Linked DNA regions of Homo sapiens: region 2 is linked to region 1. Evidence: promoter capture Hi-C in 16 types of primary human blood cells and fetal thymus (Javierre and others, 2016). All regions are on one chromosome and are shown on one strand. Each heading gives the region's core, a stretch centred on a gene start or on the middle of the fragment in contact. The rest is flanking DNA. Distances are from core to core; before and after follow the strand shown. Region 1 overlaps MCL1 (MCL1 apoptosis regulator, BCL2 family member). Region 2 holds the start of H2AC18 (H2A clustered histone 18).

What was found. Contacts are between HindIII fragments. The CHiCAGO score rates a contact against its expected background, and 5 or more counts as called.
Region 2: the fragment with the promoter of H2AC18 here is called in contact with a fragment that was not itself captured in region 1 in 1 of 17 cell types (fetal thymus); the score reaches 5.1 in fetal thymus.

What each region holds. Positions count from the first base shown.
Region 1 is chr1:150,572,893-150,578,552 of GRCh38, forward strand. MCL1 (MCL1 apoptosis regulator, BCL2 family member) reads right to left here. Exons shown (of 3, transcript NM_021960.5): 2 at 5,352-5,599; 3 at 1,666-4,599. The coding sequence ends at 4,483. It overlaps ADAMTSL4-AS1 (ADAMTSL4 antisense RNA 1), which reads right to left and starts at 1,660. Exons shown (of 4, transcript NR_104133.1): 1 at 1,232-1,660; 2 at 767-929. RefSeq lists enhancers at 4,976-5,660, 5,136-5,660. The HindIII fragment of the contact is 703 bases long and covers 3,300-4,002 here.
Region 2 is chr1:149,840,060-149,845,719 of GRCh38, forward strand. H2AC18 (H2A clustered histone 18) reads right to left here and starts at 2,691. Exons shown (of 1, transcript NM_003516.3): 1 at 2,159-2,691. The coding sequence starts at 2,639. The coding sequence ends at 2,247. It overlaps H3C14 (H3 clustered histone 14), which reads right to left and starts at 1,149. Exons shown (of 1, transcript NM_021059.3): 1 at 628-1,149. The coding sequence starts at 1,098. The coding sequence ends at 688. It also overlaps the pseudogene H2BC19P and a transcript of H4C15 not described here. RefSeq lists enhancers at 417-990, 5,266-5,660. The HindIII fragment of the contact is 2,631 bases long and covers 1,346-3,976 here.

The sequences.
Region 1 (5,660 bases), core at 2,401-4,900:
ACAAGTTATTTCATTTTAATTTTGTAAAAAAAAAAAAAAAAATCCTTCGGCTGTCACAACTGTTTTAAATAAAAATTTTGTGAAAAAACAGTATGAAGACGTTGCTCTAGATACAGAACAGGAACTGAGAAAGTCTGGTTGTGTCAAATAAAGCAAAGTGTTGATAATTCTGACTACTGATTAAGGTTACCCAGTTACTATTAAATCCAAGCTTTTAAGGTGCTGAGCAAAGGAACACTGTACCAGAAACGGCTTCACATCATAGCACGTCAATGGGAGCAATAGCACTAACTTAACTCAGGCCAAGACTTGGGCTTGGGTCCTCTGTGGCTGCTACTCTCCTACCACACCTTTGCTTGGGAGTGCACTTACACAGCTTTCTTTGTAATGATACAAAAAGTTGCTGCCTTTTGGTAGTTAGGCTCCAGAAAGGGGCTTCCAAACCAAAATGCACTTTTAAATAGAAATGCAACTGACTGCAGGGAGGCACAGAATCCTGATTGCCTGATTAGCATATGGTGCTCAGGGCTTAAAACCAAGTATGCAAACCTCACATTTGCACATTTCCATGGTGATTCAGCTCACTTTCAAGGTAGCTGAAAATAAAAGCAGGATAGGGGTTTTTGAAATTGACTGGCTTCTTTTTACCTCCTTTTGGAAAGCAGAAGGGGAAAAGCACTGCTGCCAAGAACTTCATCAAAACTCTTTAACTTTAGGTATTATTTAGGTGTTATGATAGAGTAACTGCTGTACAGTACCCTCTTACCTCAAGATCAAGGCTGGGCGCAGTGGCTCAGGTCTGTAATCGCAGCACTTCGGCTGAGGCGAGTGGATCACTGAGGTCAGGACTTCAAGACCAGCCTGACCAACACGGCAAAACCCCGTCTCTACCAAAAATAGAAAAATTAGCCGGGCATGGTGGCGGGCACCTGTAATCCCAGCTACTCGGGAGGCTGAGGTTGCAGTGAGCCGAGATTGCCCCACTGCACTCTAGCCTGGGCAAAAGAGTGAGACTGTGCCTCAAAACAAAACAAAACAAAACATACCAACACCTGGTGATTCAAAAAAATCAAGACAGAGGCTGGGTGCGATGGCTCACGCCTGTAATCCTGGCACTCTGGGAGGCAGAGGTGGGCAGATCACCTGAGGTCGGGAGTTCAAGACCAGCCTGACCAACACGGAGAAACCCCATCTCTACTAAAAATACAAAATTATCTGGGTGTGGTGGCGCATGCCTGTATTCCCAGCTACTCAGGAGGCTGAGGCAGGAGAATCATTTGAACCTGGGAGGCGGAGGTTGCGGTGAGCGGAGATCGTGCCATTGCACTCCAGCCTGGACAACAAGAGCAAAACTCCATCTCAAAAAAAAAATAATAAATAAATAAATCAAGACAGAAATTTTGATTTTAAAGAGGTTTTTGATTTTACTTGGAGGTTTAAGAACTCCTCTAAGTACAGCAGTAATATATTTAATTAAAAACCCAACACCTCTAATTAGAATTGAAGAAAGGAACTGTCCTTTGCTCTAAGGCAAATCAACTTTGTGAGGCTTTTGCTTTGAATTCACCTGTACATATTTGCTCAGCTGACTTCTCTAAAAGGTTTGCCTAAGAGAGGGAAGGAAAAAGAGGCGTCGATGAGAAAAGACCCATATCACACCCTGTATTTGAATAAAAGATTTATTTTTTTTTCTCAGGAAAAACAGAAAGTTAGGGAAACACACTACATTTGACAACCAACATTAATTTGTAGTTGGTCCTAACCCTTCCTGGCACAGCTATCAAAAGTACAGCTGTTTAACCAGAACCAAGGTGTTCACCCCCCACAGAATGTACATGAAACACTAGAGGACTGCATGTTTTTCCCTGAGAGAAGCGTAAGACAAACAGAAGTCAAAAAGTAGTCACTGGGAGCGCCATCCTTCTAAGCAAATCCTCCCTTTCCCTTTTGGAGGATTTGCCCGAACTACGTAGCCAGTCAGCACTTAGACCACCTGCCTCCTCCTCCCCCTATAAACCCACCACTCCCCTCCTCCTTTCCCAAACCACTTGGGGTGTCCTAAGCCCTCACTGCCCCAAGCCCAAAATATCAACTAAGATCCTTGTCTGTATTTCCACAGTCATACCTAATGAATTGGGAAGTGGGGCCCCTAAAAACCAATTCACATCTATGCACTTGTTTCCACTGGATTTGGCAGACAGGCTTTTTTAGTTACCGTAACCAGATCTTAAGATTAATTAAAAACTACATAAAGTGCTTTTAGGTCCTTAGAGATACATGATATAAATAAGCGGCTTATGATCAAGAACGATAAATACATAGGTAAAAATAGCTCTAGCAAAGATGACCTTATGGCTCTGAGATGGGCAGGCAGGGCAGTTCTTCCCCATTACATTCTTAGTCATCTTATTCATACCTATTTTTAAATGGAGTCCACAGACTAAAGGTCATGTTCCGAGACTGAAGCTTTCAAATGACCCTAGTTCCAATATAGACACTTTCTTCAGTTTATCAGTAGCTTTTAAACTCTGAGGTTTAACACAGCTCACCTCTTTCTGTAAATTTAAGTGAGCATACTCCTATACAAAGGAAACTTTAGAGAAAGCCTCATAAAATGTTCTTTCCTCTGAAAATTCCTGAGGGGACTTTTGACACATTGCCCCCAAAGACAGGATAAAACAATAGTTGAAAAGATACCAGTCCAAGGAAAAGGGACTTCCTCCCACCTCTCAATGACTGTTAGTGTCACAGCACCCATGGTATTACCACCTGCTAACAGGATCAAGTTCGTGAAAGATGAAAGGTCTGTGGACTCTTGGTGGGGAGGGAGGGTCACTCAGGTTTCCAGCAGGGGTTTCACAGTGCCAAAATCTAAAAGGGCTAGAAAGAGTTCAGGGATGGCAGGGGAAAGCTGTAGGAATTGATATAAATATCTGTAGAGGGAGCAGAACAATCAGCAATTTCAAGGAAGGACAGGAAATAAAAGGTTAAGTCTGATAGAACAAACATCAAGACTGAAATCCAAAGATGCCAATGCAAAAACTTGCAACAAGGTTTGGGAATCATTAATAGAAACAAAACAGTAAGTATTTGCTTTATTGACATACTAGGCTTAGACCTGTGTGTGTAACAAGCAAGCCTAATAATAGCACCATGGTTAGACTAGCCTGCTTTTCCAAGCCATCATTTTATAATTTATTAAGCAAACAAGGGATCAAATGTCTCTCCATCCACCTGATGTGATCTTTTTATATGCACACAGCTAATGAGTTCCATTCAGCTGAAAATCTTTTAGTAAAAGCTTTAAAGATGAGCCCATGAATTCACTTTAAATTTCACCAGTTAAATTAGGTCAAATGGAAGGAACTCAAATGAGTATTGCCCAATCAGAGCCCATTATTTGTAAGTCATCAGTAACCTTAAAACTCCACTTAGACCTAATTATTGAAAACTTGCATATAATGAAGTGAAAGAATTTCCATTCATCAACCTCTCAATCCCAGGTTTTCAAAGAAAAACCTAAGGAATACTTACCAAAATCAGATAAGAAAATTTAAACCTGCATAGTTATCAGATTTGTTCCACTACAACCAGTCTGCATACAGTTACACATCAATTCGTTCTGTATACACTCTAGAACTGAACAGAACAAAGTTTAGCATAGAAAAGCTGTAAGAAACAGGTTCCTAATTACGGAAGTTGCAAAGTTCAAAAGGGTATGAAAAAAACTAATGTAAATTCGATACTTCCTTCGTTTCAAAGAAATAGACTTTCTGTAAAAATATATACAATTTTTACAAATACATTTACAAGCTGTCTTAAGAATTGAGGATATCCATATTCATAACTAATTACTGAGCCTTCCGTCAAGTATTATTGGTGATAAACTAGGCTAATAAAGTAAGAATCATGGAAACCAAGCCAAAGTATAACAGGTATAAAAGTCCTGAACACTTGGACTTTCTAAGAAGTATACTGGGAAAGCTAATTAGAGAGAGGAAAAGCTTCCCTTGTACAGTACTGAGGCTTACAGTCATAGTTCTATTACTTGTAACTTTTACACAGGTCACTGGCATTCTTAGTGCTTCTCTTAACACTACAGTAAATTAATGAATTCGGCGGGTAATCAATTCTATGACTTGCCTGGCTACTGGCCACTTTCCTGTTCTCAACAAGGAAATTAAGTCTTTCCACCCTACCATCTTCACTAAATCTAAAAGTCCTCCTCCATAGCTTCCCAAACAAAGTTTGTTTGTTGCTGAAACTGAACTTTGCTTCTTTCAGACAGTGACTCTTCAATCAATGGGGAGCACTCTTCCCATGTATTTATTCTTGTTAGCCATAATCCTCTTGCCACTTGCTTTTCTGGCTAGGTTGCTAGGGTGCAACTCTAGGAAGTTACAGCTTGGAGTCCAACTGCATAAACTGGTTTTGGTGGTGGTGGTGGTTGGTTAAAAGTCAACTATTGCACTTACAGTAAGGCTATCTTATTAGATATGCCAAACCAGCTCCTACTCCAGCAACACCTGCAAAAGCCAGCAGCACATTCCTGATGCCACCTTCTAGGTCCTCTACATGGAAGAACTCCACAAACCCATCCTAGAAAACAAAAAAGAAAAGCACATTTTCAAGTATGGGTTTCTGCTCTCTTACAACACTACTATCCAGAGAGAAGGTAAATTAAAATATCTAAGGTTTCCCCCTAAAGCAATAGTAAACCAATTATTATTCACCCCGGGGCAAAAAAAGAAAATAAGTTCTTCAGTTTCTTAAGCGGGGACCCATGATAATTAAACTTCATTTTACAGTACTATCTTGGTCTTATTAGGATTTATCCTAACAAAAGGACTTCCAGAGTTCCCATGAGGTAAAAGACGAAAACCCTTATTCTCAAATCTCCACCACCTAATATTTCAGTAACGCCTCAATTGCGCAGATCAGTTTTTCTCAACGTAGTTAAGTACATCCTGCATCAGATCTGGGTTTGTTTAAAACGCAGGCTCCACCCCATATCTTCTCCATTAAAACAGGCACCGCCTTAGGAATTATTTCAGCTATCCTCCCCTGGTGACTTATTTTTTCATGGTTTGAATCCACTGAAGAGTATTCAACTGAATTGGAACAAAAAATTGCCTAGAGAAAACCAAGATTTTTGATACAATTCAAGACCGCCATACCACTATCTCTAAGGATCCACTACTTAAATCAACATCAAATAAACAATGGTCCTTTAGTTAGAGCCTGCAAACAGCCGTGCGTCATAAAAACCTTTAGATATCCCCACCTCTCTAAAAAAAATCCTTCATTCTACTTCCACTCCAAGGCCCCTTTCATCCTTAAGGCAAACTTACCCAGCCTCTTTGTTTAACTAGCCAGTCCCGTTTTGTCCTTACGAGAACGTCTGTGATACTTTCTGCTAATGGTTCGATGCAGCTTTCTTGGTTTATGGTCTTCAAGTGTTTAGCCACAAAGGCACCAAAAGAAATGAGAGTCACAATCCTGCCCCAGTTTGTTACGCCGTCGCTGAAAACATGGATCATCACTCGAGACAACGATTTCACATCGTCTTCGTTTTTGATGTCCAGTTTCCGAAGCATGCCTGAGAAAGAAAAGCATGCAGGTCCTCACGGCCTCCTTTGTCTAAACCGGCGCAAGATTCG
Region 2 (5,660 bases), core at 1,441-3,940, 730 kb before region 1:
GGACATGGACAGGGAACGGCTCGATAAAGCCCAGATTCACAAAATTCCGCCCACACCCCGTGCCCCCGGGAATTTTGGCTTAGGGGCAGGATATGGGGGTTACCACTGTGCTAGTGGAGGTGGCGCGGGGACTGAACGGCAGCCCCAGCGCAGTTCTCCCCACGTTTGTCCGCAGAACCCCGGCGAGGCCGAGGTGGTCATTTCCCTCCCTAGCCGGATGGCCGCGCCGGGTGAGGCCGGTTTGGGCGCGAAGCACGGGCGTGTGGCGCTCCACTTCCGCAAAGGCCAGCCGCGCTCAGGACCGCGAGCCCTGAGCGTCCCCCTAGTGACCCCTGGCCTCGTGCCCGACGCCCCGTCTCTCCTGCCCCGGCCCCCCCGCCACGCAGGGCCCCGGTCACGCGCGGGGGGAGCCGGACCGCCAAAGCCCGCGAGCCGGCGCCCAGGAAAGCGTCCGCAGCCCGGCCAGTGCGGATAGGCCAATTGGCCGAAGTCGGCAAAGCTCAAGACGGCACCGCAGCAGGGGGACCCGACCCCGTTTTGTTGGGAGCCTAAGCGGAAGTGCCTTCCCCGCTCTAATGCCGGAGGAGCACGGAGGGCAAGCGGTACAGCTTCTTCCAAGTGCTGATGTGGGTGGCTCTGAAAAGAGCCTTTTGGATACGATGGAACCTCCGGCCGAACCGCCACTTCTTAAGCCCGCTCTCCACGGATGCGGCGGGCCAGCTGGATGTCCTTGGGCATAATGGTCACGCGCTTGGCGTGGATGGCGCACAGGTTCGTGTCTTCGAACAGCCCCACCAGGTAGGCCTCGCTGGCCTCCTGCAGCGCCATCACGGCCGAGCTCTGGAAGCGCAGGTCCGTCTTAAAGTCCTGCGCGATCTCGCGTACCAGCCGCTGGAAGGGCAGCTTGCGGATCAGCAGCTCCGTGGACTTCTGGTAGCGCCGGATCTCCCGCAGGGCTACGGTGCCGGGCCGGTAGCGGTGCGGCTTCTTCACCCCGCCCGTGGCCGGCGCGCTCTTGCGGGCCGCCTTGGTGGCCAGCTGCTTCCTCGGGGCCTTGCCGCCGGTCGACTTGCGAGCAGTCTGCTTAGTACGGGCCATAGCGAACCAAAACACAGGCTTACCAGCGCAGCGGCGGGGAGAAAAACGAGCTCCTAGCCCCGCCGCAGCCGTCTTTATAAGCACAGTCTTTTCCCGATTGGGCGGAACAATAATTGAAAATCCCGCGCTGGCTGTCCATTGGCTGTGACGTCACCCGTCCTAAAGTCACCGGTTGGCTTGGGCAGATTCCTCCCTAATCCCGCCCACCCCGCCTCACTTTCTACTTACCAGTTGGCGAAGTTTCGCAAGCTTGTTTTTCCCCTTTCCTTCAGGGTGAAAGTCATTTTCCATTGCAGCTTTGTCAGATTGTTCCCTTTCCGCCCTTCGCTTCCTTAGAACACACTGCCCGCAATACCCCCCCTTTCTTGCTGCGCCCTACAGCTCCCGCGTGGAACCTCATTCTTCCATTTGCCCCCCGCCCCCAGTTGCTACTTGGCGGATCGTTTTTCGCCTGTCGGGTGCCTTTTGGGTGGGAGAGGTGCCCGCCCCCAGGACGCAAGATTCCGCCTCCGAGGCCCTTACTCTCCGCCGCCAGGGCGCTTTGGAAAACAAAACAGAAACTAAGACTTAAGTCAGCTCAGTGAAGCCAAGACCCAGCTCCGCCACACTAGCGAGCACTACCCGCTCAGGGCCCTCCCCATCGGGGGTGGGGACGAGGAGCACGTCCCGCTGGTGCCAGACTAGGTCTAAGTGTCCGGCCATAGCCTGCGGAAACCACTAGGGAAGCGCGCGCTCCGCGCGCAACACTTCAGCGCGTTGGGTACTGCCCGCGGCGCTGGTGTTTGTGACTGTGTGGAGCGGACCGTGGCGGCGCCCAGGACGTTTGGTGCCTGCACCTGCCCTGGGAAGTCCTAGGACTGGGGACCCACTCATCGAAGAGCCAAGGCAGTTACGTGCTCCAGATGGAAGACGGCGCGCACACACACACACCCCGCCCCGCCCCGCCCCGTCCCGTCCCGTCCCGTCCCGTCCCGTCCCGTCAGCTCCAGGTTCGCTATTCACTACTGAGGAACGCTGGACTGAGAGTGGCCAGCATTAACAACTCTTTTATTTGAAAACGTGGGTGGCTCTGAAAAGAGCCTTTTGAGTTCACAGGTGCCCCTTCGAGACGCGGGCCGGGCTGGGCCCACTTGGGCCGGACGTCAGCCTCACTTGCCCTTTGCCTTGTGGTGACTCTCCGTCTTCTTAGGGAGCAGTACGGCCTGGATGTTAGGCAAGACGCCGCCCTGGGCGATGGTGACTTTGCCCAGCAGCTTGTTCAGTTCCTCGTCGTTGCGGATGGCCAGCTGGAGGTGACGAGGGATGATGCGCGTCTTCTTGTTGTCCCGAGCCGCGTTGCCCGCCAGCTCCAGGATCTCGGCGGTCAGATACTCGAGGACCGCAGCCATGTAGACGGGCGCGCCGGCCCCCACTCGCTCCGCGTAGTTGCCTTTGCGCAGCAAGCGATGCACTCGCCCTACCGGGAACTGAAGGCCAGCGCGGGACGAGCGCGACTTGGCCTTGGCGCGGGCCTTGCCTCCTTGCTTGCCACGACCAGACATGACAGCGATAGTAGTCACCGAGAGAAACTCCTGCCTGGCGATCGGGAAAGTCGCCGAAAACGCCGCTGCTTCACCTTTTTATAGACAGAACGGCGATTGTCCACGGAGCACTTTGATTGGCTCAAGCAAATTTTGTCCCGATAGCCAATAGGATAGCTCAGCCAGAATCCACTCATTTACATAATCTCGTCTCCCTCGCATTGCGCGCCGCGGAAAACTCGCGAACCATAACGCAGCGTCATGCGCACAGCCTCTGTAAGTACACAGTCGTTTCCGGTAGACCCCGAGCCTACCGCTCTGCTTGCGTTCTCGGGGGTCGGTGTCGGTCTTGGGTCTGGCCATGCCTGAGCCTGCAAAGTTCGCGCCGGCTCCCAAGAAGGGCTCCAAGAAAGCCGTCACCAAAGCCCAGAAGAAAGACGGCAAGAAGCGCAAGCGCAGCCGCAAGGAGAGCTACTCCATCTACGTGTACAAGGTGCTGAAGCGGGTCCACCCCGACACCGGCATCTGGTGCAAGGCCATGGGCATCATGAACTCCTTCCTCAACGACATCTTCGAGCGCATCGCGGGAGAGGCGTCCCGCCTGGCGCACTACAACAAGCGCTCCACCATCACGTCCCGGAGATCCAGACGGCCGTGCGCCTGCTGCTGCCCGGCGAGCTGGCCAAGCACGCCGTGTCCGAGGGCACCAAGGCGGTCACCAAGTACGCCAGCTCCAAGTGAGTCCCTGCCGGGACCTGGCGCTCGCTCGCTCCCTCCCTCCCTCCCTCCGCGGGTCGCCGGCTGCTTTGTCTCCAAAGGCTCTTTTCAGGGCCACTTAACCCCGTTAGTGAAATAAGCTGTTTTCCCACTGCTTACTGTGAGTTCTACTTAGGGGTTTTCCCTCAGCACCTATCCCTTTTCCTGCAGATGATGGGAGAGGAATATAAGATAAAGCTATAAGATGTAGCTTGGTCGAGAACTACCTTGTAGTGACAGGGTCATGTGCACATAATTTGCCTTTTCCAAAGTGAGACGATATGCTACGGGTGCGGTCAATGTAAATCTGCTCAGGAGAGTCAAGGGAAAAAGTGTTAACTGCATATTGAGCTCGCAAAATTGTGTAGTAACCTGAAAATATTCCTAATAGTTTTGCGACCAAGCCTCACCATATAAACTTTCCTTCCGCACCTGTAGACCTCCATTCTGTGGTTGAAGCAATTTTTGGTTTATATAGCTCTCTTGTCTCAATTTGGTATTCCTTTCAGGTACTGTGAGTCTATAGGTATTTATTTCTGGGTTTCAAGACGTTAAATGCCATCAGAATTGAGTAATGCAAAGGCTGCTGTCATGGATAGTAAAGCTTTTTAGTCAAGTGCTGATAGACAATTCCCCATTGTTATCGTTGGGTATTTTACAATTTTCTGGGCAAGAAATGTAATGAAAAATTAAGTAAGTTTTAAAGGCCTTCGTCTTTGAGACTGGATACCTAAAACAATAGTGTTTCCTAAACAGTTAAAACTTATTTAACCCTGAAGCTTTCGAGACACACAAATATATACAAATATATATTGTATATTTCTTAAACCCCACATAGTTCCACTGATCTAAATCACTGGGGGCGAGAGGCAAGGATAGACAATCTATGACACAACACCAGGTGATTCATAAGTTTGGTAACCACTGACATTTGATTATGCAGTTGCCATATTCCTTAGTAAGAACCTGGTCACAATTTTCACTCACTACCCCAGGCAATTCCCCCTCCCCACACCCCCCTTTTTTCTGAGAATTTCAGTGAGATATACAAAAGTTTCATTTAATCCTTTATTAATTCCAGACTTTATATATTTTTATTAGGATTTAAAATACATTTCAAAAAGATCAAGTGAGAACAGAAGATAAAAGTACCAAGATAAAGGCATAATACAAACTTAGAAAATACATGTTAAGCATACTGCGGCGTCCTGGTAGCCCCTTGCTTTTGTTCACTTTTTTCTCTTATGTACCTACATAAAATCCCAAATAGTATCTTCCAGGATGACACACTTGCTGTCTGCCCCACCCAATTAAAAACAGATTTTTTAGTTATTAGGTATTGTGCTGAATCTACCTTATTTTATTGCCAAAAGAAAAAAAAAAAAAAGCTTTTCAAAGCTTCATCCCCAGGAAACATTTTCCTGCTTTTACACATACCTTATATGGCTCTACTGAGAGATAAGGCCTAAGCCTGAAAAGTTAATTTAAAGCATGGAGGTAGGGGTGAGACAGAAAGACAACAGGGAAAAGTTGAGTTTATAAGGTAAGTATATATCTTCCTTTTAACAGCCACCTGCATGGCGTTCGGTAAATAACCTAATTATATGTGGGGGAAGGTAGTGGTCAACATTTGGTCCTGGGGACTGAGAATAAGAGCAGGAAAGCAATAAACAGCTAACTATGAGAGTGACTTAATGTAATTATATTACCTGTCAATCGCTACTTTTCCTTTCTTACCAAAATTCACACAGGTATGAAAGCAATATGACATTCAGGCTCCATTATGTGTATTTGTGCACATCACTTCCCACGATAAGGGAGAAGAAAAGAAACCACTGCACATTCGGATAAAACATGCTGGGAATACAGCAGTAAACAGAATAGAAAAAGTCTACATTTTAATTAGCAGATAAGTAAAAATAAGTGACTAAATGTATATTATTCAGGGGGCCATATGTGCAATTGCTGTTAAGTAAAGCAGAACATGGAGTGGAGTAGGGATGACAGGTTTCATCAGTTAATACTTGAGCAGAGAGCTGAATACAGTAAGATAGTTGTAGGATATCTTGAGGCAGAGTATTCTCAGAACAGAACATGGTAAGTACAAAGGCCCCAAGGCAGGAACAAGCTTGGTGAATGTGAGAAATATGCAAGCTGGTTAATGTGGCTGAAGCACAGTGACCAAGGGAAAGTTTTACAGAGATCACGGAGGTGCTTGAGGGCTGGATTATGTAGGCCATTAAGGAGCATCACAGGCCACTGCAGAGATTTTGTCTTTTAAATGAG